Regions from separate parts of the Homo sapiens genome. Here all the other regions are linked to region 1. Evidence: promoter capture Hi-C in 16 types of primary human blood cells and fetal thymus (Javierre and others, 2016). All regions are on one chromosome and are shown on one strand. Each heading gives the region's core, a stretch centred on a gene start or on the middle of the fragment in contact. The rest is flanking DNA. Distances are from core to core; before and after follow the strand shown.

Evidence for each region. Contacts are between HindIII fragments. The CHiCAGO score rates a contact against its expected background, and 5 or more counts as called.
Region 2: a contact is called between a fragment that was not itself captured here and the fragment with the promoter of LINC02086 in region 1, in 1 of 17 cell types (M2 macrophages). The highest score is 5.5, in M2 macrophages.
Region 3: a contact is called between a fragment that was not itself captured here and the fragment with the promoter of LINC02086 in region 1, in 3 of 17 cell types (endothelial precursors, M1 macrophages and M2 macrophages). The highest score is 6.0, in endothelial precursors.
Region 4: a fragment that was not itself captured here is called in contact with the fragment with the promoter of LINC02086 in region 1 in 1 of 17 cell types (M0 macrophages); the score reaches 5.7 in M0 macrophages.
Region 5: a fragment that was not itself captured here is called in contact with the fragment with the promoter of LINC02086 in region 1 in 3 of 17 cell types (M2 macrophages, M1 macrophages and erythroblasts); the score reaches 6.1 in M2 macrophages.
Region 6: a fragment that was not itself captured here is called in contact with the fragment with the promoter of LINC02086 in region 1 in 1 of 17 cell types (M0 macrophages); the score reaches 5.8 in M0 macrophages.
Region 7: a contact is called between a fragment that was not itself captured here and the fragment with the promoter of LINC02086 in region 1, in 2 of 17 cell types (M0 macrophages and megakaryocytes). The highest score is 5.6, in M0 macrophages.

What each region holds. Positions count from the first base shown.
Region 1 is chr17:48,641,054-48,644,458 of GRCh38, reverse strand. It overlaps LINC02086 (long intergenic non-protein coding RNA 2086), which reads right to left and starts at 1,832. Exons shown (of 8, transcript NR_189645.1): 1 at 1-1,832. All of the region lies in intron 1 of LINC03057 (long intergenic non-protein coding RNA 3057), which reads left to right. RefSeq lists enhancers at 1,238-2,234, 2,235-3,233. The HindIII fragment of the contact is 12,737 bases long and covers 1-3,405 here.
Region 2 is chr17:48,141,332-48,144,736 of GRCh38, reverse strand. The region is part of intron 11 of SKAP1 (src kinase associated phosphoprotein 1); the gene reads left to right. Among named protein-coding and RNA genes, the nearest start is that of MIR1203, 13 kb to the left of the region's middle. RefSeq lists an enhancer at 850-919. The HindIII fragment of the contact is 9,940 bases long and covers 1-3,405 here.
Region 3 is chr17:48,162,516-48,165,920 of GRCh38, reverse strand. It overlaps SKAP1 (src kinase associated phosphoprotein 1), which reads left to right. Exons shown (of 13, transcript NM_003726.4): 11 at 3,352-3,405. Among named protein-coding and RNA genes, the nearest start is that of MIR1203, 7.7 kb to the right of the region's middle. The HindIII fragment of the contact is 1,940 bases long and covers 664-2,603 here.
Region 4 is chr17:48,183,808-48,187,212 of GRCh38, reverse strand. SKAP1 (src kinase associated phosphoprotein 1) reads left to right here. Exons shown (of 13, transcript NM_003726.4): 7 at 2,366-2,490. Among named protein-coding and RNA genes, the nearest start is that of MIR1203, 29 kb to the right of the region's middle. The HindIII fragment of the contact is 983 bases long and covers 1,240-2,222 here.
Region 5 is chr17:48,204,596-48,208,000 of GRCh38, reverse strand. All of the region lies in intron 4 of SKAP1 (src kinase associated phosphoprotein 1), which reads left to right. Among named protein-coding and RNA genes, the nearest start is that of MIR1203, 50 kb to the right of the region's middle. The HindIII fragment of the contact is 1,352 bases long and covers 895-2,246 here.
Region 6 is chr17:48,226,414-48,229,818 of GRCh38, reverse strand. The region is part of intron 4 of SKAP1 (src kinase associated phosphoprotein 1); the gene reads left to right. Among named protein-coding and RNA genes, the nearest start is that of SKAP1-AS2, 66 kb to the left of the region's middle. The HindIII fragment of the contact is 2,523 bases long and covers 626-3,148 here.
Region 7 is chr17:48,243,893-48,247,297 of GRCh38, reverse strand. The region is part of intron 4 of SKAP1 (src kinase associated phosphoprotein 1); the gene reads left to right. Among named protein-coding and RNA genes, the nearest start is that of SKAP1-AS2, 49 kb to the left of the region's middle. The HindIII fragment of the contact is 1,815 bases long and covers 806-2,620 here.

The DNA of each region.
Region 1 (3,405 bases), core at 583-3,082:
TGGGGCTTCTATAGTTTTCAAAAATGGGAGAAATCAAAAATGCCATCATTATTCCAGTGACCGGGTGTGGAGGGAGTCTGCAGTTTGGCCAGAGGCCTGGTCTCAGAGAAAGGAGTCCTGAGGGCTGGGGGGTTGGGGCAAGGCCTAGGGCCAACTTGGTTCTGACCTTGCCTGCCAGTAGAGAATCTTGGGCTCTTCACCAAGTAAAGGCAAGATCAAGGGACTGGAGGTCTGAGTCCCTCTCTTGCCTAACTGCCCCAAGGGCCCCAGAAACTACTCTGGGCCAAAAATCAGTAATAGTTGAAAGAAAGAAACAAATACTGAAAACACCCAGATTTATAATCTGCTTAGACACCCAAACTCATCCTTAAAGCAGTAAATAAAATTTATCTCCTTGACTGCCTTGCAACTTTCTACTCAGTTTGGCAATGTGTAGATGGGGTCAGCTTGAGTTTCAGAGCTTGGGGGTCCAGCACTAAATGTCTAGAGAGCTAGATCTGGGGCCTCTCACCCCCTTTCCTCATATACCTCCTCTTGCTTCCTTCCCCTCCCAGGGCTTCTCAGAAAGTGACAGCTGACTTCCTTTTAGAACTGTGAAATCCCACAATTTCAGAGGATTTCAAATTCCTTGAACTTCAGGTTGAGAGCTATTTGGATTAATCAGAGAAGTTTGTGTCTGGAAAATGATGCCAGATTTAGCCAGAAAACTGAAAGACCAAATGCTTTACTTTTTTTTTCCTTTGTCTGATCTCAGTGCTTATCAGGTCAACCTTCACCTTTAAAAACACCCTGGTGGCAGTATTTCTTTGCCATCACTGTCTGTAAAGCAAAGGGCAAGCATCTCAGGGCTTTTAGTTGGGCCGGGAATTCAAATGTCTCCTTTCTCAAGAAGATGCCAAAGTGGCCACCCTCAGCCCACTTTCCGTCCTTACCTCCTCTGCCCTTTCCCCAGCTGTAGTTATAGGAATAATGGCCTTTAACTTGCAGAGATCATTAAGGCCAAAGCCCTCACTCCTTCCCATCTCTCCTCTTGGGGCCGTCTGAGTCGCTTCCTCCACGACCCTCCTCTTTTGAAGCACTCCCTAGTACTGTTAAAGGCCGAATTTGGGCTGGAGCGAAGATGGGGGCTCAGTCCAAAATAACCTAGATATTAAGTAATAGTAATGATTTTTTTAAAAGGTAACTATGAACTCTCAAGCCTCGACCACCCAGTAAAGTTCCTCCTTAAATTGTTGCCGGCCCTGGGTGCAGACACGCAAGGACTGGCCAGAACGCGAGAAACTTCTTCAAGGAGAGAGAAGTCAGGGCCCAAATTCCTCATGCTTTAAAGCAGTATAAGAGGAGAGAGTCCAAATTTTTACTCGTTAAACCTCCTCTTACCTCTTCCTCAGGTCTGTTCACTCCTTGGTCCAGGGACCGGAGCTCCTGGGCTTCGAGGTGAACCAGAGGGAACGTGGCTCCCCGCAGCAACCTTTTTGCTTCAGGGCTCCTCCTGGGGGCTGAGTGGTCCCCTTTGCTTTGCTATTCCCGCTGCGGCTCCTGGGGGGACAGCTCCGTGGGACCAGGTCTCTCAGGGGGTGGAGGGTCGCCGAAGTCGTGACCAGGAGTTGGAGACCGCTGCGTCCCTCCGCTGCGGACCTGCCTGGGACTGCGTGGAATGGACCAAGTCCTCCGTCTAGGATTCCCTAGTGCTCGACGGCGCGCACTCCGCAGTGCTCCGCTGGAGATCTGCACCTGTGTCCCGGGGCTGGGCGCAGAGTGAAGATCTCCGTGCACGCTGCTGACCGGCTCGGCGACTGCCTCCCTGCTGTGAGCAGGAGAACAGGAAGTCTGCCCGACAGGGAGGTGGCCGGGCGGGAGCGGCAGAGTCGGCGTTGAGAGGAGGGTCAGCTGCACCTCGGGATTCCGCGCGCCTTCAACTCCCTCTTGCGGACAGCCCAGCCGCGGGTTGGCGCCGCAGTGATGGAACCTGGGGAGGGCCTAGCTTAGAGTCCCAGCAGTCCAGAGGAGGGGACCAGAGCAGAGGATTAGGAACGGGGCTTTCATATCCAGCCTAGGCGCCCAGAAGCGGCACTTAAGGGGCGAAGGGAGGCCGCAATTACAAAGGTGCGCCCTCCGACGCCTCAACGTCAAGGGCCTGTAGATTCACAACCTCCTCTGTCGGGGATGGGGGAAGATGAGGTGGGATAGGGAGGCTATGTCCAGCCACCAGCGCAGGGAGTGGCTCTAAACGCTGACCCAACGCCTCGCCCCAAGCGGGATCTTGGCGCGCAGATAGACCGAGCCCGTGGTGGGGCGCCATGCCGGGCTCCCTCGCCCTTACCGAGTGAGCATCTTCTTCCCAATTTGCTGCTCAGAGAGGGAGTGGGTCCTAGTCTCTGGATCTCAGCGCTCACGACTACCTCGCTGCTCCTAACGAACGGTTCATCTGCTCTCTCCTGGCCGCCTGCGCCAGCGCCGCTCACCCACTTTTCCAGCCCTGGATCTCCTCTCCCCGGATGCGTCCTTCCTTCCCACAATTAACAAATGATCTAGCGAAACCCCGCCAGGTCCCCGGCAGAGAAGCACCTCCATCCGCCCTAACCAACCAATTAATCAGATCATTAAGGAGCCTGAGGAGTTGTAATTGGGTGGTTTGGGACGAGGGGGCGCTGAGGAGGTCATTAACCTCCCCGTAAAGATGGGGAACGGAGACGCGCCTGGCCGCCTCTGCCGCCCCTGCCGCCCCTGCCGCCCCTGTGGGCTCTTCTTAGCACGCGGGTTTTGGCCACTCCACCTGCCTGCTGCGCTCCAGTTCCCGCCTCCAGTCCAGCTATTTCACTTCTCTCTTTGTCATTCTCCGTCTTTTCTCTGGCAACCGTCCAGGGCCCCTTTCTTTGTGCCTACTTCTGTCTACCTGTCCAGCTGCCTCTTGCACCCTTTCTGTGGCCCAGCGGCCAAGAAAACTCAAAGGTCATGGCTGTTGGCCCCCGCTGATGATCTCTGGGCTCCCGGGTCTCAGACAATTCCTCAGGGCTGGCTAGAAATGGTGGGAGCTGGAGATTTGGACACTATACCCATTCCCCAAGAGAAGGGCATTTGCAAAGGGGAAGTGTTTCCTGAAACGTTCAATTCTCTTTCGGTATGAGATAGCTTTGGACAAGGTGACAAATGGCGGAAGGTCCAGGCCCCAGTGGATAAAAGCTCCATATTAATTTAATTAGAGACACAGAGACCTTGCATACTCCTTGTCTGCACAGGCAAATATGGAGGAGGTAGTGATTGGGTGTTGTGGCCTGACTGGTCTCAGTCTAAGAGTCCCCAGCACCTGTGACCTGGTTCCTGGTGTTCCAAGAAGTCCAGGTGACAGTATCTGTTCAACCTTGTGGAACAATAAATTGTTTGTCCTTTTAATTTGTCTTGTCA
Region 2 (3,405 bases), core at 354-2,853, 500 kb after region 1:
AAAACTCAAGAATCAGCAACTTAATAAAAATGCAGTAAATTAGCACCTTTAGACAGGAGCAGGGTTCATTCAGAGCTGGGGTCTGCCTGACTGAGCCAGTACTCTCTCCATTTTAATAGTTTAATAAAAATTAGCATAATTAACGAACATCTGTATGATCCAGAGTGGTGCAATTTGGCACTTGGAAACGAGGGCTTAAACATGATTGCTGTGAGTTTAATGTTGTTTTAATTCTTTTTGGCACTGTGCAGTGAAATAAACGTTTGGTGGTGATAGTTCTCGGCCGGATCTCATTTGCATTTTTCTCCCTTTGATTATGAGCAATTGTGGACTCCCCAGCAATTCATCAAAGTAGAAATTATTTTAAAATACCTCGTGGTGTTCAGACTGGGCTGGAGCAACGCATGGGGGTGGTAGTGGGAGAGAAGGTTAGAAATTTTCCATTCATGCTTTAAACATCTCAGCCCTGCAGCCCTTTTCGGGTATACAGCCAAGGGATGAAATCTGGAAAAGACAGTCAGATCCCGGGACCTGTAGGTGCTTTGATTAAGCTCCCAGGCTCCCACAGCAGGATGCATATGGTCTCTGGGACTGTGCCATCCTCCTTACACTTCTGCCTGCTCTTTTGTTTTGAAGGGCAGAGAGTTGATTTCACTCATTTCAGTTCTCATCACTGTGGCGAGGCTTCTACATCTGCAGTCGGCAGGGTCAGTGTTCCCCTGGAGCAAGAGCAGACAGACTGGGAGCCTGGCTTTTGCAGGTACCCTGCTGAGACTCATCTGCTTCCTGTTCGCACCCTCTTCGAGTTGGCAGAGAGCACCTTCCCAAGGCTTCATCCCTACTCCTGGCATTACGACTAAAGAGGGGTGCTACAAAGTGTTAGTCAAAGTTAGGAGCGTTGAACAACCCCCGGGGAGCAAATGCCTTACTGTCCCCTGCAGGTGATGCAGATGACAGCATCTGGCAGGTGGAAGACCACATTTCACACATTTCAGCAAGTTGACTTGGATCAAAAGACTCTCAGACAACACTGCCCACTCTCTGCCTGTGAGATAGCAGAAGAGCTAAAGCTAGTTTTTACGAGTTACAATGTGAGAGGTAGACAGAGTATGTATTTCCCCTTCACAGCAAGGCAACACTACAAGAAAACTTAAGTCAGAAACTGCCCTAATTTCAGTGTCGGAAAATGGACAGTAACATATCTTGTACCAAGAGGAGCTTAAAAATGCCCTGACAGGCTGGGCAGGGTATAATCCCAGCACTTTGGGAGCCTGAAGCTGGGGGATCACTTGAGCTCAGGAGTTCAAGGCTAGCCTAGGCAACATTGCAAAACTCTTATCTCTACAAAAAAAAAATACAAAATAATTAGCAAATAAAAAATAATTAGGCAGTGGCATGCACCTGTGGTCCCAGCTACTCTGGAGGCTGAGGCAGGAGAATCTCGAGCCCAGGAGGCAGAGGTTGCAGTGAGCCGAGATCATGCCACTGCACTTCAGCCTAGGTGAAGGGAGTGAAATCCTGTCTCCCAAAAAAAAAAAAAAAAAAAAGCTAAAGAATTATAGGTAATTTCCCATAAGACGTTGCGAACTGTAGGGAGAAGCTGGCCTGGGAGAGGGAGGAAATGAGGTGTGGTGGGTCAGGCACAGTGGCTCACTCCAATAATCCCAACAAGCAGGAGGATTGCTTGAACCCAGGAGTTCAGGACCAGCCTGGGCAACATAGGGAGACCCCATCTCTACAAAAAAAAAAAAAAAAGTTTTTTTTTTAACTAGCCAGGCATGGTGAAATGCACCTGTAGTCCTAGTTACTTAGGAGGCTGAAGCGGGAGGATCACTTAAGCCCAGGAGTGGTTGCAGTGAGCTATACTTGCACCACTGCACTCCATCCTGGGCAACAGAGCGAAACCCTGTCTCAAAAAACAAAACAAGAAAAGAAGGTGTGGTGTAGGAAGAGGTGGCAGACAGACACATTTAGTTATTTAAGGCTGATTTTCACAAGGCACTTCCCTGGTCCTAAAAGGATCAACTCAGTAGTCTCACTTCTTGTGGCATTTCAGACTCTTATTGTTGTATAAGGAGCCATTTGAGGAGACTGTCTCCAAAGGTAGTTGATCTCTTTCTGCCACAACTAGTTCAATCACCAGGGGAATATCTTGGAGTTAGTTGTAACTAAATCTGCTCAACTAAGAATACAAATTCCCACTGCCCCCTTCATTTCATCATAATCTCATTTAACAAGTTTTTTTGTTTGTTTTGTTTTGTTTTGTTTTTATTTGAGATGGAGTTTCGCTCTTGTTGCCCAGGCTGGAGTGCAATGGCATGATCTTGGCTCACCGCAACCTCCGCCTCCCGGGTTCAAGCAATTCTCCTGCCTCAGCTTCCCGAGTAGCTGGGATTACAGGCATCCTCAACCACGCCCAGCTAATTTTTGTATTTTTAATAGAGACAGGGTTTCACCATGTTGGTCAGGCTGGTGTCGAACTCCTGACCTCAGGTGATCCACCCACCTCGGCCTCCCAAAGTGCTGGATTACAGGTGTGAGCCACCGCGCCCGGCCTCATTTAACAAGTATTTATTTGGCCCCACTCTGTGCTGGATATAGTGCTGAATGCTGAGAACACAAAAGCAAACAAAACCAACAAGGTCCAGTCCTCAGAACTTTCCAACTAGTGATTGACACTGAGACAAAGACAGGCAGATAGAAGGCAGTGTAATCACAAGCTCTTTTCCAGGAAAGCACAGGGCACAGCACTGTGGACCGTGTAACCGGGACCCCACACAGTCAGAGAGTGTCAAGGAGAGGCTTCTAGGGAGTGAGTAACTCAGGAACTGAGATCTGAAGGCTGCTTAGGAGTAAGCCCCATGAAATGAGAAGGGAAGTAGAGGCTAAACAGGCAGAGGAAAGGTTCCAAGGTGAGGGAGCCTGTGGCCCATGGGAGCAGCTGAGACAAGTTCTATTTTACTAAGGAACACTAAATCTAGGAGGTGAGTAACAATGCTGAACAGTGAGTGGGACTGGGTCATGCAGGGCCTTGTCTACTTTGTTAAGAAGTTAAGGGGTGGCCAGGCACAGTGGCTCATGCCTGTATTCCCAGTACTTTGGGAGACCGAGGCAGGCAGATCACCTGAGGTCAGGAGTTCAAGACCAGACTGGCCAATATGGTGAAACCCCATCTCTACTAAAAATACAAAAATCAGCGAGGTGTGGTGGCAGGCACCTGTAATCCCAGCTACTCAGATTGAACCCAGGAGAATCATTTGAACCCAGGAGGCAGAGGTTGCAGTGAGCTGAGATCGTGTCAGTGCACTCCAGACTGGGCAACAGGGGCTATGGCTCAAAAAAAACAAAAACAAAAACAAAAACCAGTTAACAAGGGGCATTGGGAACCCACCGAAAGTTTCCAAG
Region 3 (3,405 bases), core at 384-2,883, 480 kb after region 1:
CAAATGGACAGACTGGAAAAAAAATAATTAGATGGAATAATGTCCTTAAAATGAGAATTAGGATGTTTTGAATTAATTAAATGGTCAGAATGCTGCACCATTTCTGATTTCAGACGGCTGCCAGAGTAGTGTAAGCCTAAAGGAATCTAAATCCAGCCCATAGAGGCAAGCCTCACCCTTGGGCTCTCAGTTCCTCTCTCTGCTCTACAGAAATCAAAGTCGGCCGGGCACAGTGGTTCATGCCTGTAATCCCAACACTTTAGGAGACCGAGGTGGGCGGATCACCTGAGGTCGGGAGTTCAAGACCAGCATGACCAACATGGAGAAACCCCGTCTCTACTAAAAATACAAAATTAGCTGGGCGTGGTGGCACGTGCCTGTAATCCCAGCTACCCGGGAGGCTGAGGCAGGAGAATCCCTTGAACCCAGGAGGCAGAGGTTGTGGTGAGCCGAGATCATGCCATTACACTCCACCCTGGGCAAAAGGAGCAAAACTTCGCCTCAAAAAAAAAAAAAAGAAAGAAAGAAAGAAAGAAAGAAAAGAAAAGAAAGCAAAGTCTCCTCATGCATTCTCTTGTTTATAGGATGAGTTGGGCAGGTTTAGGGAGAAGCTGGACTAGCCCTGCAGACTCTGGGCTTTTAAGCTCTTCCTGGTGCCAAGCTTCAGGAATGAAGCCCTCCTCCAACTTATCTCTTCCCCTCTTCAAGGTCTTTAACACCCACTTGGCCAGAAAAGCCTTTTCTGACCCCTCAAACTATGTTAGATTCCCTATTACACACAGCGTCCTCAACTTCTCCTTCACAGACATATCATAATCATAAATAAACATTTGTGTAACTGTTTTTTCCATGGTGCTTCCCCGACTAGAAGGTACCCTTGAGAGGAGGGCTCATGTGTGGCCAATGTGGGATTCCCAGTATCTAACACAGTCCCTGGCATTTAGTAGGTACTGTATACATGTCTGTTGGATGATGAGAATGAATTAGTGAAGTTGCATGCACACATACACATAAATGCATATCACATGTGTGTTAAACAGGAAGTCTGCAATATGGAGTCACCTTGCCCAGCTAAGGAATTATCCCTCACTGATTTCCTTAATAGAGAATACTTCTAGCTAGCTAGCAAGTTCAAACTTTTCCCAGTTTTTAGCCCTTCATTCTGCCTGTTTTTTTGGAGCTGTTCTACTTCTGACTGAAGTTCCCTATTCTTGGGCTGAGCTAAACCATCTCCTGGATTCCTGAACTCTGTCTTCTTTTGGCCTTTAATATCAAAGACCTTTTCTATCTTTATTTTTTTCCTGGAAGGCTTCTGTTTTTCTCCTAGCTTCTTGCTTTCCCTGTGATCTTTTGTGCTTTTAGAATAGATCTTTTTCCAGATGTTCTCCCAGGCCCATATATACCCAATGTCAAATCACTTTTTATGTATACACCAAAAAGGCACTCAATATTAGGACCTATCCCATATCCAGGCACACAGTAGGGAACCGTACTCCAAAGTGACTATCTGCTAGGCCAGAAAAGACCAAGATAACCTTGTTAGTCTCCTTACCACTTAGAAATATTGTTATGGTTTTAGAATCTATTTTTACAAAAATGGTTTTCTCTACCATATATAAATCCATGAAAAATATTGATGTTAATATTCTTTCATTCCTGAGTTTAGTCAAAATCTTGGGGTAATTAATCAACTCCATTAAAATGGAAAATTCATAATATATCCTCTGGGAAAACTACTTTCACTTTTCAGGGATTGATATTTCTCTATTATTTCATGTACTTAATATTTCCAAAAATGAATGCTTTGTCTATTCAATAACTAACATATTTCTCCCAAAGTATTTTTCTTCCAAACATATTATCAACTCTGTGGCAGAATGTTTTCACAGTAGTTATCTTGTTTGCTGCCCTCTGTTGTCTACTGCACACACAGACAATTTTATGTGTGAAGAAAACATGCCTGAATTTCTATATGGTTGACATTTTTACTTTTGTTTGCAATATCTGAGTTTTAACTAAATAGTTCTCTCCCTCCTCTGTTTTTGTACCCTTTAAGATTCCTACCAAAATTCTCTTCCAGAGACATATAGGGATTTTGTCCCTCCGTGCCTTTATTATTTAAATTGCTCGTAAGTCAGGAATAAGTAGAAAAAAAGCAAATATAGGGAGGGTGTCTGTGCCCCTACTGCCCACTTGCCCTATCCTCAGCCACCAATACTATCACTGCTCATGGGAGGGTAAAATGAATAAAGGGAAAGGTGGAAATCTATAGAACAGAGTCCCCCAAAATCATGTGAATTTTAATTAGAACCCAGGACTCCTGACTCCCATCTATTGAATTTCATCTTTTGTAGGTGCTTTGTTCACAGCTCTGATACAGAGCACCCCAAGGAAAAAGGAGCATGCCTGGTCTAGTGGGCATTAGCTCTCCTGCCATTCAAATCCCCAGATCCTCTCCCACTTTGTACTCTAGTGTTTAACCTTTCCGGGTAGAAGATCAATACAAATTCTTCATTGTTAAGAATCGATGGCTGTCCTGTGGCATCATTGCCATCTAGTTCTGCTGAGAAGCTCAGTAAATCTCTCCAGCTGCTTCTAAAGCTTGGTTTGTCGTCTTCAGTTGCTTTCATTTTTAATGCAGATCACTTTGGTTTCTGTTCCCCTGGGGCTTGCAGATAAATCTTGGCAGACATGTTCAAGGTCTACAAATGAGATGCTGGAAAAGGGCCAGCCCACCCAGAATTTAGTTGTAATGGATGAGACACCCCCTTGGTTCCACTTAAAGACTGGGCTATTCGTTTCAGTATTTATTGGTGATTACCTCATATAGTACCTAGGTGGGAAGTTCCCAGGACAAAGTTCCTATGGACAAAGAAGGCCGAAAAGTGAGCTGTGATCCAGAAGCCTGCTGGCTGACTAAGCCTTTCTTGTAAATAGGCAGAAGTCACAGATTTACTCTGATCCTTCAAATGCATAATGAAGAGAAAAACTAGATAGTTAGTTGCCCTGGATCAGGAAAGTCTGGCGGGAAACCTCTGCACTGCTTACTTACAAACCAAGTGAAAAATTACCTGCCTGATTTTCTTTTATTAATAAATAAATATATTTATCATATTGTTGAACGGCATCCTACTAGGAGTGATCTGTAAATATTTAATGTTAGTTAATGATCTCCTTCTCCCATAGTCCTTTGCTCATGCTGAGTGTTTGGCTGTATCTCATCTCAACTCCCCTTAATCTGAGGTTTCCTAGGGGCAATATCAGAACCCTGGTTTCCATTTGCAGCAAAAACATGGGTACCTCGGAAAAAATAGAGTCCTTTTAACTTTGATTTCTCCTCTCTTTGATCAGTAGACTATGCCAGTTACTACCAGGGCCTATGGGATTGCCATGGTGACCAGCCAG
Region 4 (3,405 bases), core at 482-2,981, 460 kb after region 1:
AAGACCTCCCATCCATGTTTAATGTAATTGATTGGTTTATGAAAAGAAATAGAGGATATAAGCACAATTGGAGGCAATTACAAATAAAGACAAGCTAAAAATTATTATTATAGATGAATGCAAACTTTCGAATAGGGGATACTCTTCTACAGAGTTGGACTGCCCCAGGAGTAATTCTAAGACGCAAGAGGGAGACAAAGTTTAAAAAGCATCAATTCTTCTTGGGGCTTTCCTTGTACTGTGCACCTTCGTACAGAGGCCAGCGATACAGTTTGAGTAGACTCTTCTTTTTCCTTGCAATCATTTTCTGTTTCTCCTTCCTCAAACTTAGTGCTTTCCCAGTGCCTGGATATCCAATATAGGGAATAATCAGACACCCACCCAGTTGCCTTTGTACTTCCTGCACCTGTGGCACTAAGGTAGTGGAAAGAACTGCAGCTTTGGGCCAGGCACAGTGGCTCACGCCTGTAATCCCAGCACTTTGGGAGGCCAAGGCAGGCAGATCATGAGGTCAGGAGTTCAAGACCAACCTGGCCAACATAGTGAAACCCCGTCTCTACTACTAAAAATACAAAAATTAGCCAGGCATGGTGGCATGTGCCTGTAGGCTGAGGCAGGAGAATTGCTTGAACCCAGGAGGTGGAGGTTGTGGTGAGCCGAGATCACGCCACTGCACTCCACCCTGGGCAACAGAGCGAGACTCTGTCTCAACCATAAATAAATAAATAAATAAATAAATAAATAAATAAATAAATAAAAACTGCAGCTTTGCTAAGTGACTTGAAATCCTTAAGATTTGCCCAAGCAATTGTCTCACACTGCCTGCAGTAGTTATCACAGACCTTTGCCTACCTTTCACCATCCTAGATTCCTCAGAACATTTCGCATCTAGGGGCAAAGGCTAAAGCCCTGTTTGGGAAGGATAACAGCATAGTTTGTAAACTGAGCTACAAGTCCTCTGTGTCCTTCCAACCCCCAGCCCACTCTCCAACCCAGCAACCACAATTTCTCCTCTAAATTATAGGCATTCAATCCAGCCAGTTGTTCTTTTCTTATTTTAAAACTTCAAACTAATATGACACTTCTCACTGTAAATATGTTCATCATTTATTTTGCATTTAAATAAGTGGTTGGCATATCTAGATATAAAACCAGGTGTGTCACATCTGTTCATTCAGAATCTTCCATACTCACGGTGAGAGAGGAGCAGGGAGAGCAAGAGCAAGAGACTCGGAAGCTTTTATTGACCATTTTGCCATTAGGGTGAAATAAAATCTGGTGACCAAAGAAACAACAAAACATTTTAGTGGCCAGTTAGAACAAGGAGAGATACTTTAACAAAAAAGATTCTGGTGTCAAAAAGCACTGTTCCATGGCTCCCTTCTCGCCAGTTATTTCTTACTGTGCCCATGACATTTTCTTAGTAAGAATAGTGTTTGTGTATTTCTTTTAGCTCAACCAGGTGAGCACAGTCTTTTTTCTTCTTCTTTCTTTTTTAATATTGGCATCGCACTGCCATCCTTGTCATCATTATCATCATCAAAAGGCATTTATTAAGCAATTCATTTCACATGATATAGAGCTCAAAGCATCCCAGACACTGTGGTTCCTGTTCTCTGTGTGTTCTGCCTGACCCACACAATGAGGATACAAAATTCTTGAGAGTCACCTCCTCTTTTTCTGTTTCTAACATTTTTTTTAAGTAGTGACAAGCAGAATAGTCTCTCTTCACTTATGGTCCTTTTCCTTTTATCTCCTTCCTCGTCATCTAATAATACTCAACGTTATTCTGCTACTTCCCAGGTTGACCTCTTACAAGGAGGATAAAATACTGAGTTTTAATTATTCTCCCTCTGGCATAAATTCCCACCTGACCAGCAGGGAAGGGGAAGAGAAGTTTAGCCCAAATGCTACATAGGGCATGGGAGGCGATTCTGGGACCTTATAATGCCCCCCTGTGCTGCTGTCCCTCCCCTCAAATGTGAGCTCTGCTGGCCCTGATAATAATGTTTCAGCTTTATAATAGCCTTCAAGAGCCTCACATTTACAGCCACACTCTCTCTGCTGTAATAATTCCTTCTTTCTGTTGTTATAGATCTCTTAACATTCTAATAAATTCTCTGTCTCTGTTGTACTCTTTTGGCAAAATAACCTTTCACGTTGCATTTCCCTAGCTTGGCAGTGATATCTGCCTTACTGTCGCAGTAGCCTCTTCTTAAGCTTCTCTAATAACCTTTCCTTGACTATTGTGGTTCCTCAGGGATGTAACAGCTGTTTCTGTGCTTTTATTTTACATACCAGAGAGGATGCCTTCCCTTGGCAGTTGCATCTCTCTAGGGATACAGGGAGCTTTCCTGTCTTGCAGGCAAGCAGCCCAAAGGGACCTTCCTCATTAAGGGCTACGGTGTACGGATGGCCCCCCACCTGCGAAGAGATTCCAAGAAAGAATCCTGCTTTGAACTGACCTCCCAGGATAGGCGCAGCTATGAGGTAGGACGCATCAAGGAGATGGTGATCCTTCTTGGTGTTGCAGTTTCCTTCTGTATTGCATGTGAGCCATGGTTGCTATGCTGGGTTCCAGCCTTTCTTTGTTACCTGCTCATTTCATGCCAACGAAGACCCTATTTCTTGGCATGTCCTCATATTTGCTATGCCACACCCTCCCCTCTGTTGCCACTCTCATCTTAGATACAGACTTTGCTTGGCTTCCATCCTTCATTCCTCCCCTTCTCAATTTCACTTCATAGGTGAGATGCTTGTCAATTGCAGCACACAATCAAATTCCTTACTTATAGTCTCCGATTTTATGGTTTAAATTCCCATTCTCTTTATTCTTCGACTGATTTTCTTCACTTCCTTCCATGAAATCCCAAAAAAAGATCTAACTGTAGAGTGAAAAAAAATTATTTTCCCATGTTCATCTTGCTATCCAAAATAATCTTCCTGTGTGTAGATGCTTTGCATATCTCTGGAAGGATTTCTAAGATATTGGTGACGATAGTAACAATAATAATTGAAGGACTAGAGGACCTGGTCGGGGCAAGAAAGACTTATTCCGTACTGTGCTCAGTTTGAATCTTTACCTCATTATAAAATTAATGTGTTTTATTTTATTTTTGCCATCTTCATGCTGAATGACCAATAAAATTTAAAAATTTCTGACTGTGGAAATATAGTGATTTTCACCAAAAATGTATGTTTGCATGTGTGTGTATTGTTTCCTGCTTTTTGGTAATTTTTATCTTATCACAATTTTATTAAAGCAATTTAGAAAAACTTTAGCTTATGAAAAAGGAAAACACCATACTAAGAGTAAATTAACCACTTAAGTAACACTTTTAGTCTTCAGACTTTTCTCAGCATTCTTCTTTTTTATTTCTACAGTATCTTAACTCTTATTTTGTT
Region 5 (3,405 bases), core at 321-2,820, 440 kb after region 1:
GTACTTTTCCAACCCTATAAATTAAAATCATGTCTGTGCTGTCTCTGTCTTTGCACTGATCTGAAGTCATTCTAGGACATTCTAGGAATTCTGTGCTCTCTGGCACAAAACCTCCCACGTGGAAGGTTCCAGATAAATTTTTCTTGATTTGATTTGATCTACAGGTACTTGATCAAATTCTGGTCATGCCCAGTAATACAATAATACTTTGTAAATTGCAACCCAAGTTTATACCCTGGGCTTCTGACCCCAAATTTCATAATGGGATTCCATACCTTTTATTCCTTATGAAATAAAACAGCTCTCCAGTGGAAAGAGACCTCCTGCTTTTGTGGGTCCCCTTGCAATGTAGGAAGAGCTAAGGCAAATTAGACGTATGGTATAAAGTACAATATTAGAATTGTAAATGAGTCTTAAAATTACATACAGACTACAGATTATTAAAGTATTCTTAAGACAATATCTAATTCAAATATAACTTTATGTAAATTTTTTTTCTTTTTTTTTTTTTTTTTGAGACAGAGTCTTCCTCTGTTGCCCAGACTGGAGTGTAGTGGCGCAATCTCAGCTCACTGCAACATCTGCCTCCCAGGCTCAAGCAATTCTTGTGCCTCAGCCTCCTGAGTAGCTGGGATTACAAGCATGCATCACCACATCCAGCTAATTTTTGTATTTTTAGTAGAGATGGTTTCTGCATGTTGGCCAGAACTCCTGGTCTTGAACTCCTGGCCTCAAGTGATCTGCCTGCCTCGGCCTCCAAAGCGCTGGGATTACAGGCGTGAGTCACCATGCCCAACCTGTGCAAGTGGTTTTAATAGCATTGTTTCTCTTCATTCTACACTGGTTTCTTCTTTCTTTTCTGGATTCCTTTGCCACGTACCTTCATACCAAGCTTAGGAATTTTGTGTAATCAGCCACTCAGAATGGACATCATTATATAAATATGGAGACATGGCTGTACTGTGAAATGGTTGAAAAACTATTTTTAAAATTTTCTATTTTTATTTTTATCAAAATAATGTATGCATATAGTTCTTAAAAATCAAATAAAGCCAGGCACAATGGTGTGTACCTGTAGTCCCTTGGGAGGCTAAAGTGGGAAGATTACTTGAGCCCAGGAGTTTGAATTCAGCCTTGGCCACATAGCAAGACCCCATTTCCAAAAAAATTTTTTTTAATCAAATAATACTACAAGCAGTCACCCTGGAGTTCTGCTTTCCAGAGGCAACCCCTTTCCATTTTTTAAAAATTAACTTTTTCATCCATTCTGATGTGTCTCTTCCACACTTCTAAATAATATGATTAGACAGCTATTTTTTTAGTTTATCAATTTCAGACATTACCTATTGATTTTATATTATGATAGGGGAGGAGTCAGCATTCCTATTCCATCCCAGCCATCAATTCCCCATTCTTCATGTTTCGAGTGTGGTTATATCATAATTTTTAGTTAATCAATATTTAGTGTTTACATTAACTATGTAAATATTATTTACGTCAACCCTTATAAAATTGTATAATTAAATTTTATTTCTTTATTTTTTATACCAAGGGGTATAAAAAAAAACGTCTTTATTTTTTACCCAAGAGGACTGGGTTCATAGAGCTTCCAGATAACTGACCACGTGGAGGTTCCTGGAGGGTAGCATAGCCAGGGAGGACATGGAAGCTCCACACCCCTTCCCCCATACCTCACCCTATGCATCTCTTTACCTATATCCTTTGTTATATCCTTTATAATAAACCAGGAAATGTAAAAAAAATTCTTGTTTTTCCTAGAGTTGGCAAATGCCTTGACTTTCTTCATTTGCATAGTTTTCTAAGTCACCATCCCTAATTCTTTCCAAACTTTGCAGAATTGTAATTTTCCACATTATCAAACACACCAGATGATCCATCAGTTCCATTTGTGCTTCTAGTCTCTCCTGGAGATCTCCATCCTCCTCCCCACTCTGGGCTGGCTGCTCTCAGGCCTCCTGCACAGCTGTCATCCTGGGACTTCCCTTTCATCCCTTTCCTTCATCAGAGCACCACGTTCTGGACCCAATGTCACCTTTTTTCTTGGTGGACTCCCTCATTTTGATGGAGCACATATTGTGGTGGCATCCTGAGAAAGGATGCCTGGGAGGTCAATTTCTTGAGACTTTGAATGTCTGAAAACCTCTGTATTCTACTTTTACACTTAACTGTTAGTTTGGGTGTGAGAATGCTAATGGAAATCATTTTCCCTTAGAACTTGGAAAGCTTTGCTTCATTGGCTTCCAGCTTTCATTGTTGCTGTGGAGAATTTCAGTGCCATTCTGATTCTTAATGCTTTGTATGACTTGTTTCTCCCCCCTGATTCAGAAGGTTTTAGGATCTTCTTTTTAAGAATTCTGTTCTGAAATATCACTGTGATTACCAATATGTGAGTCCCTTTTCATTCATGTGCTGGGTGTATGGAGGACCATGTCAATCAAAAGATTCCTATCATTTTGAGAAATGTTATTATTTCTTTGATAATGTCCTTCCCTCTGTTTCTGTGTTCTAATACTTTTTATCTTTTCTGGTTTCCTTTTCTTGATCTTTTTGTTCTATTTAAGATTTCCTTGGCCAGGTGTGGTAGCTCACGCCTGTAATCCCAGCACTTTGGGAGGCCGAGGCACGTGAATTGCTTGAGCCCAGGAGTTCTAGACCAGCCTGGGCAACATAGCTAAACCCTGTCTCGACCAAAAAATCCAAAAATTAGCTGAGCGTGGTGACATGTGCCTGTAGTTTCAGCTACTCAGGAGGCTGAGGTGGGAGGATTGCTTAAGCCTGGGAGGTGGAGACTGCAGTGAACCAAGATCAAGCCACTGCACTCCAGCCTGGGCAACAGAGTGAGACCCCATCTCAAAAAAAGAAAGAGACAGAGAGAGAGAGAGAGAGAGAGAAGGAAAGAAAGAAAGAGAGAGAGAGAAAGAAGAAAGAAAGAGAGAGAGAGAAAGAAAGAAAGAAAGAAAGAAAAAGAAAGAAAGAAAGAAAGAAAGAAAGAAAGAAAGAAAGAAAAGAAAAGAAAAGAAAGAGGAAGGAGGGAGGGAGGAAGGAAGGAAGGAAGGAAGGATTTCCTTGACAAGTATTTCTACCATCTTAAATCATGCAACATTTTAGTAGTTGGTCTTATGGAACTCTTAGCTTTGGTAATGTGGGATGTGCTGCTCAGATTCTGCATCAGAGCTATTCTTGTTCCTCCTTTCATGTGCTCTACACAGTTTGACCCATAGAAGTCCAGCAGTCCCACTCAATGTCTGGGGCTAAACATCCCTGTGAACCTCATACAGCCCAGGTACCTGTCTCTTCTCTGGTAATGCCAAAGATCAGATCCCATTTTAAGGCTGAATATCCTGGACAACTCCCAGGCATAATGGCTCCATTTAGTAGTATATT
Region 6 (3,405 bases), core at 638-3,137, 410 kb after region 1:
AATCTGAAGAACACTGTTTAGGTTAAAATGTCTTCTTGCTGTTATAATTGGAGAGGGTGACATTGGTGTTTAGCACCAGCCAAAATATATAAACTCAAGATTAAGGAGAAAAAAGTTATGAGTTGAACCTGTGAGTTTAAAAAAACTGCAAATATTTTATTTATTTTTTATGTATATTTTATTTATTTATTTATTTTTGAGACAGAGTCTCACTCTGTCACCCAGGCTGGAGTGCAGTGGCATGATCTCAGCTCACTGCAACCTCTGCCTCCTGGGTTTAAGCAATTCTCCTGCCTCAGCCTCCCGAGTAGCTGAGATTACAGTCACCCACCACAACGCCCAGCTAATTTTTGTATTTTTAGTAGAGATGAGGTTTAACCATCTTGGCCAGGCTAGTCACAAACTCCTGACCTCAGGCGATCTGCCCACCTCGTCCTCCCAAAATGCTGGGATTACAGGTGTGAGCCACCACGCCAGGCCCGCAAATGTTTTATGATGACAAAAAAAGGTTTAGTACTGCTAACTTAACTGATGCTTCTAGGTAGTTGATGATCATCATTCTCTTGCTTTATTTCCAAGTCTACGTAATAAAAACAAAAATAAATAAAATTTTCATATTAAAGCTTCAGAACCCTAAGTTGAAAAAAGAGATTCATACTTAACCGCAGGTCTTTTGGGTGCCTACAATGTGTCAGACATGGTGCTAAGTGTTGGGTGTAAAGAGAGTAGGATCCAGACCTCACCCTCAGGGATGCACGACCAAGAGTACAGAGACTCACTCCAGACCTGAAGGCAGTGCTGAGAAGAGGCAGAGAGGTCTCCTCTCTGAGCTGAGCATCAGATGTTAAACTGTGGTGTCTTTCCTTATCTGCCCCAGCTCTTACCCCACCTGCCTGTAGAGGGCCCTGTGCCAGCAAACCACAGGGTTCTATTAGGAATCCCACCACAGTGTCAGCTCCTTTAGCCCAGCTCTGTGGTGCCTAGTTCTCTCTTCAGTTTTCCAAAATGCCTAGGACCTGGCCCAAAACCCCAGGCACTAAACAAAAAGGCTTAACTGAGCTCTGGCAGTCACTAGCTGTATAGTTTGAGCAAATTACTTAAACTCTGTATCCCTCAGTTTCTTCATTCATAAAATGGGAAAACGCCTACATCATAAGGTTGTTTTGAAACCTGAATGAGTTGATACATGTAAAGCACTTAGAACAGCAACTGATACATAAGTGGAGTCTAATAAATGCTCACCAGGCTATTTCCTCAGTTCTAACACAAAACCTAATACAAGGCTTAAATTATTCAAGGCCCACCTTTGCTATCTATTGGGTATGATTTGAGAATTTAACACAATACTGCAGCAATATTTGAATAATGCTCCAAAAGCAGAAACCAACCTATAGAAGCATCTATGATTAGCTCTGGTCAGATGTCAGAAAACATTTCAGGCTATTCAAGTGTCAGTGCTCTCTATGGGAGGTTTATTAACAATACAGATGTTCTATATTGCGTTTTTTAGTGAGACACAAATACACGGTGTGAAAAAATTAAGTATTTTAGAGACAGACTTTTTATTGGTGTATTAGAAAGATTTCTCATGCTCATTCAATCTCTCTATCTCTCTATCTCTCTTTGTCTTTCTCTCTCTCTCTCTCACACACACCCTACCCCACCCCCACATCTTATATAATTATGTTTCCTGCAATCTTAACAATACTGAATTACATCAGTGTTTCTCTATGCATAAGCCTGCAACTTAATTGTAGATATTAAATATATGTCATAATATCTCTGCTACTTATTAGTGATCAGGATATACACAGAAATACACCTTGAAATGAATGAGAGACTTTGTAGCTCCAATATTTTTATTTATTTAACCAACATTTACATAGTGCATATTGTGTTCCAGACACAGTTCTAAGCACTATTTAGCAGTAATTCATTTTATCCTCGTAACAACCTTATAAGATAAAACTGAAACACAGAGAAATTGATCAGTTCGCTGAAGTCTCACAGCTGGTAAGGGTTGGAACCTGGATTCAGAGCAGGCTCTCTGGCTGCAGAGTCCATGTTCTTCACCACCACTCTCTACTAGCCAGTCAACTTCATTTCTTTCAGACCCCACAATAAAAATAAAAATGAGCTTCTCTTTGAGACTATGTTATGGAATCTCCCCTTGATAAAAAATTCCAAAATGCCAATCCTCTCTGCATTCTATAAAATTCTAAAATTCTTTTATTTTCCACTAGAGGTAAAGAATTCTAAAATTCTTAACACAAGGTGTTAGTGCTCAATTGGCATTAATTAGTGGCTATGATGATGCATAAAATTTAGGTTTTAAAACATTTTTCAGTCCCTTTCTGTACTGAGCTGGAGCTTGAGTGATGGGGTGCCCAGACAGAAACCAAGAAAGATCCAAGAATCTTAGGACAGAGAAGGAGCCATGAACTCATGTAGTCTAGCCTACCCATTCTGCAGACCAAACTGCAGATAAATCAAATGACTTGCTCATCATTGCAGAACTACTTTGTGTCAGTGCTAGGACTAGCGCACAGAACAAGAATAAACAGGGGCAGTTTAGGAAATAGTCTTTCTGGAAACTCTTAATTTTTCCCAAGCCCTAGAGCTCTTTTTTTATACCATGTTCCCTCTCCATTCACAGAAACTGAAGTAAAACTTGAGATATCATGCCAGTCCTGGAAGTCAGAGTAGTGAAAAGTCCAGAATCCAAGTTAAGTAGGGCTTGAAGAATTCACCTGTGCCAGAATTCAAAGCAAGCTCAATAACCAAAACTAGAGAGCCAAGCTAAGGTCAAGCCAAGAGGAAGATACACTAAAGGGTGAGGCAAGACAGGAAGCTCAAGTCCAGGCAAACTGGAAGGTATGGAGTTAGGAAGAGGTAATTGGAATCGCAACAACCTGCCCATTTCAAACCCCACAGATGTTTAAGAATGTCTCAAACTTGGTGGAGGGTGCGAGCTCACCCTAAATAGCACATCCCTTTTGAATAAATTAAGCATCAAGTTTACCATGCAGACTGTATGGAATTTTTCAAGATCAAAACCACCAAAATCAAGTTAAATGTCCACTTCAAAAAAAATAGGCAAGATTATGAGTTACTGCAACTCATCTGATAGATCTATGCACAGTAAGCTTGTTAGCATCTTACTTTATCTGCCAGTGAAGACTGGAGGACTGAGCTGATTCAGCTGGGAATTGAACCTGTGGTTCCAGGAAGTCTAGATATTTCAAACCTCATACTTAGTCCATTAAGATATCCCCTCCAAGAACATAATGTAGTTAAAGTAGACTTAGATATCTTTAATACAGAGAGTGGATTTTATTTCCACTTTGGGAATTTCTGATCCATAATAGAGATATAGATGAAACTTACCTACAATAGTGCCTATAG
Region 7 (3,405 bases), core at 464-2,963, 400 kb after region 1:
TGGTGCTTAGTTAATAGATGTCTAGTTGTGCTGTATACAGGTCTTCCCAATGGAATGTGACTAATAGGAAGGCAGGGTTTGGTCTCCTACTTCTTTGGTAAATTGTGTGCATACTTGGAAGTGAAATGCACACAGTGAGTACACAGAGACTTTTGTAAAGTAAGTGAATTTGTGTATATGTATTAGGTATAGTGACACTTTTCTGCAGATGTGGAGGTATTTATTTATTGTGCACTAGAATTGATGGTTCAATTCAGATAGTTGGGTTAGAGAGAACTTTTGAGACTGCGAGAGGTATGAGTCAGGGGGATGGGAAAGGTTGTTTAATTTCCTTCTTTCTAACATTCATTCATACATTAATTCAACAAATATTTACTAAATGCCTTCTGGTTAAGACTGTTCTAAGCATTCCAGGGATAGACAGAGGTGTCAAAGGCACATGAGAGATGACGTGGGAGATAAGTTATGCACCCAAGTAACTGAAATTCAAGAGGCTGTGTGATAAGTACTGTAAGTACATAGCAGCTCCAAGGAGATCAGTCAGTTTAGATTAGAGTGATGAAAAAGACCAGCAGGATTGGGTGATTAACTCTCAGAGATCTCTGCACTGTTAGGAGACCTGAAATGTGGTCCAAGCTGTAGCTTGATGTCTTTGGGCAGATCACTTAATCTCTGCATGCCTTAGTAAAAGGAGAAATTAGATCATTTAGTCTCTAAAGCTCTTCCAGCTCTAGAACTCCATGAAGAACCGTATTTGAATCAGGCTTTGAAGGATGACTATAAAAATAAAAAATAAAATAAAGCTTTATGGTTTGAATGAGAGAACCTCTGCTATGCTATGATTTTAACAGGTAGAGATAGGGGAAGATAGAAGTGAGAATAGTGAACTCCAGGGCAACGGGGCTATACCCACAAAGGTGTAGGTGTGGGGAAATGTAGAATGTGTTCAGGAAACACCAAATAGTCCGGTCTAACAAGGGTTACTTAATTGTAGGAGGATGATGAGAGGAGACAGTAAAGGTAAACCAGCCTAATTTTTGGAAACCTTTGAATGCTAGTCTGAAGTATAATATTCAGCTTAATTAAAGATTTTTAAGAATATAACCAATATCCTTTGCTTTAGATACAGTACGGATAATGAAATTACCTAAGTCTTCCATTTTATATGTGTGTTAAAATGTACAGAGCCCCTACAATGTGCCAGGCTCTGTTCTAAGTGATTTATGTATTTTAATTTATAGCAACCCGTTGAGAAAGGCATTATTATTGTAAATTTTTGTGGGTTTTTTTGTTGTTTTTTGTTATTGTTGTTGTTGTTGTTTTGAGACGGAGTCTAGCTCTGTCACCCAGGCTGGAGTACAGTGGCACAATCTTGGGTCACTGCAACCTCTGCCTTCTGGGTTCAAGCGATTATCCTGCCTCAGCCTCTTGAGTAGCTGGGATTACAGGCATGCACCACTACACTGGCTAATTTTTATATTTTTAGTAGAGACAGGGTTTCACCCTGTTGGCCAGGCTGGTCTCGAACTCCTGACCTCCAGTGATCCACCCACCTTGACCTCCCAAAGTGTTGGGATTACAGGTGTGAGCCACCGCACCCGGCCTCTTATTGTACATTTTATAGATGAGGACATTGAAGCACAGAGAGGTTAAGTAACTTTCCCAAAGTCACACAGCTAGTAAAGTGTCAGAGCTGGAATTCAAACCCATTTGTTATAACTACCATAGAAAACTTATTATAGTAAGTGCTGTCTTCATTTTTCTCTCTTTAAAGTCACATGTTATCTAGAAGCACATGTAAAAATTGAAAGATTGAGTGAAATAAGCCAGTATGGATCAGTCGTTCTAAAGCATAATAAAGGCACTTTTAAACAATCCCTGTTGGAGCAAAAGTCTACTTCTCGTAATCAACAGCAACCTGTCACTATCGTAATTTTAAAAGACTTAACTATTTTGTCAGAATGTGTTCCTTAAAATGATGCTTTTACAAAAAGAAAAAAGAAAAAAAAATCAGATTGTGGGTTGTGTTTTAGAAAGACTACAGTCATTTTTGGTTGTAATCTTATATCCCAGAAATTCAAGAGGGGCAGCTGCTCCAGCCAAGTCAAGGAGGAAGATACCTACTATTTTCCAGGTTCCTACCATTTTAGATTCTATAATTTTGGAGCTGCCAGCAGTACTTCAGGCAGATGGTTTCCCAAGTGTAAAACTGTTCCCCAGGAAGGAAAGAGAGTCAGGTTACTCCTTCCTCATGAGCCAAAATTCTGAAAGTAAAGGGGTGTGTTCTTTCTCTAACCTTTGGCCTAAGCATGACTTTGTATTGAGTTACTACTCCTAGAAATCTTCTGTTTTCATTTTCTACGATTATGGTCCAGGTTTTAGACTCAGGAACAAATGGCAAGCATCCATGCATCATTTGGAGGTTCTAGAAGAAAGAATGAAAGCCCATGACACTATTCAGCTCTTTTATTTTGTTTGGATGTAAATATAAGTTTTAACTAATTATTTGACTCATTTTCCCTGTGAACGCATCTTCTTTTAAGTGGATCTCCATGCTTTTTGCTAGGCAGTTTGGTCATTTCTTAGTCTGGCCAAACCCTTTCTTTGAGGTTTCCAAGCTTCCTTTGGAATATTATAACTGTGTATCATCAGCAGAATTTTCAGTTTTCTTTCCCCCAACTATTTGTTAATGTTTGCTGAAAGGAACCTTTAACAGGAAGTAAACTTGCTTGGCATGGCCCAGCTGTGAGTGAAGCTTGAGTGAGAGGTATTTATGACCTGACAGGAAGATAAAGATAAAGATAAAGATGAAGCTGACTTGGTGGCTGTTAGCAAGGGGAGAAGGAAATGTTTATGACCCCATCTGCTGGCGTTTCAATAGGATAGAACTGCCTTTATGGCGTCAATCTCCCCTGTGACTTCCTTCCATTTGGGGAGTGTTATCTTATTTCAAGATGTTCCCACCGAACACACTGTTGTCCCCTTTGTTTAGGGGCAAAGGAGGAAGGAAGGACTTTGTTACTGGAATGTGGGGATGGGGCAGTATTTATGGTTATGACTCAAGCTGGAGAAAAGGCTTCATTGGAGTTGACTGTATAGTCCAGGAAAGCTGCCATGCATTCTGCTACTTCCTTAAACATTATCCACACTGAAAGCAGAACCACATTAGCTCTGGTCATTATCAGGCATTAAGGCTAACCATTTTCTAACATTATTATAAGTAGAATTAGTGTAGCTTGATTTCATTGCACACTGTGGGGAAAATAATTTTATTCTCTTAGTTCCTTGTTTCTTGTCTTTTATTTAACATCTCTTCTTTTTCTTCTCCTGAACTTTTTTCTTTCTTTTTCTTAGAGGAGGAGACATTTAAAACCAACAGGTGCCATATCTGCTTAGTTCAAAATC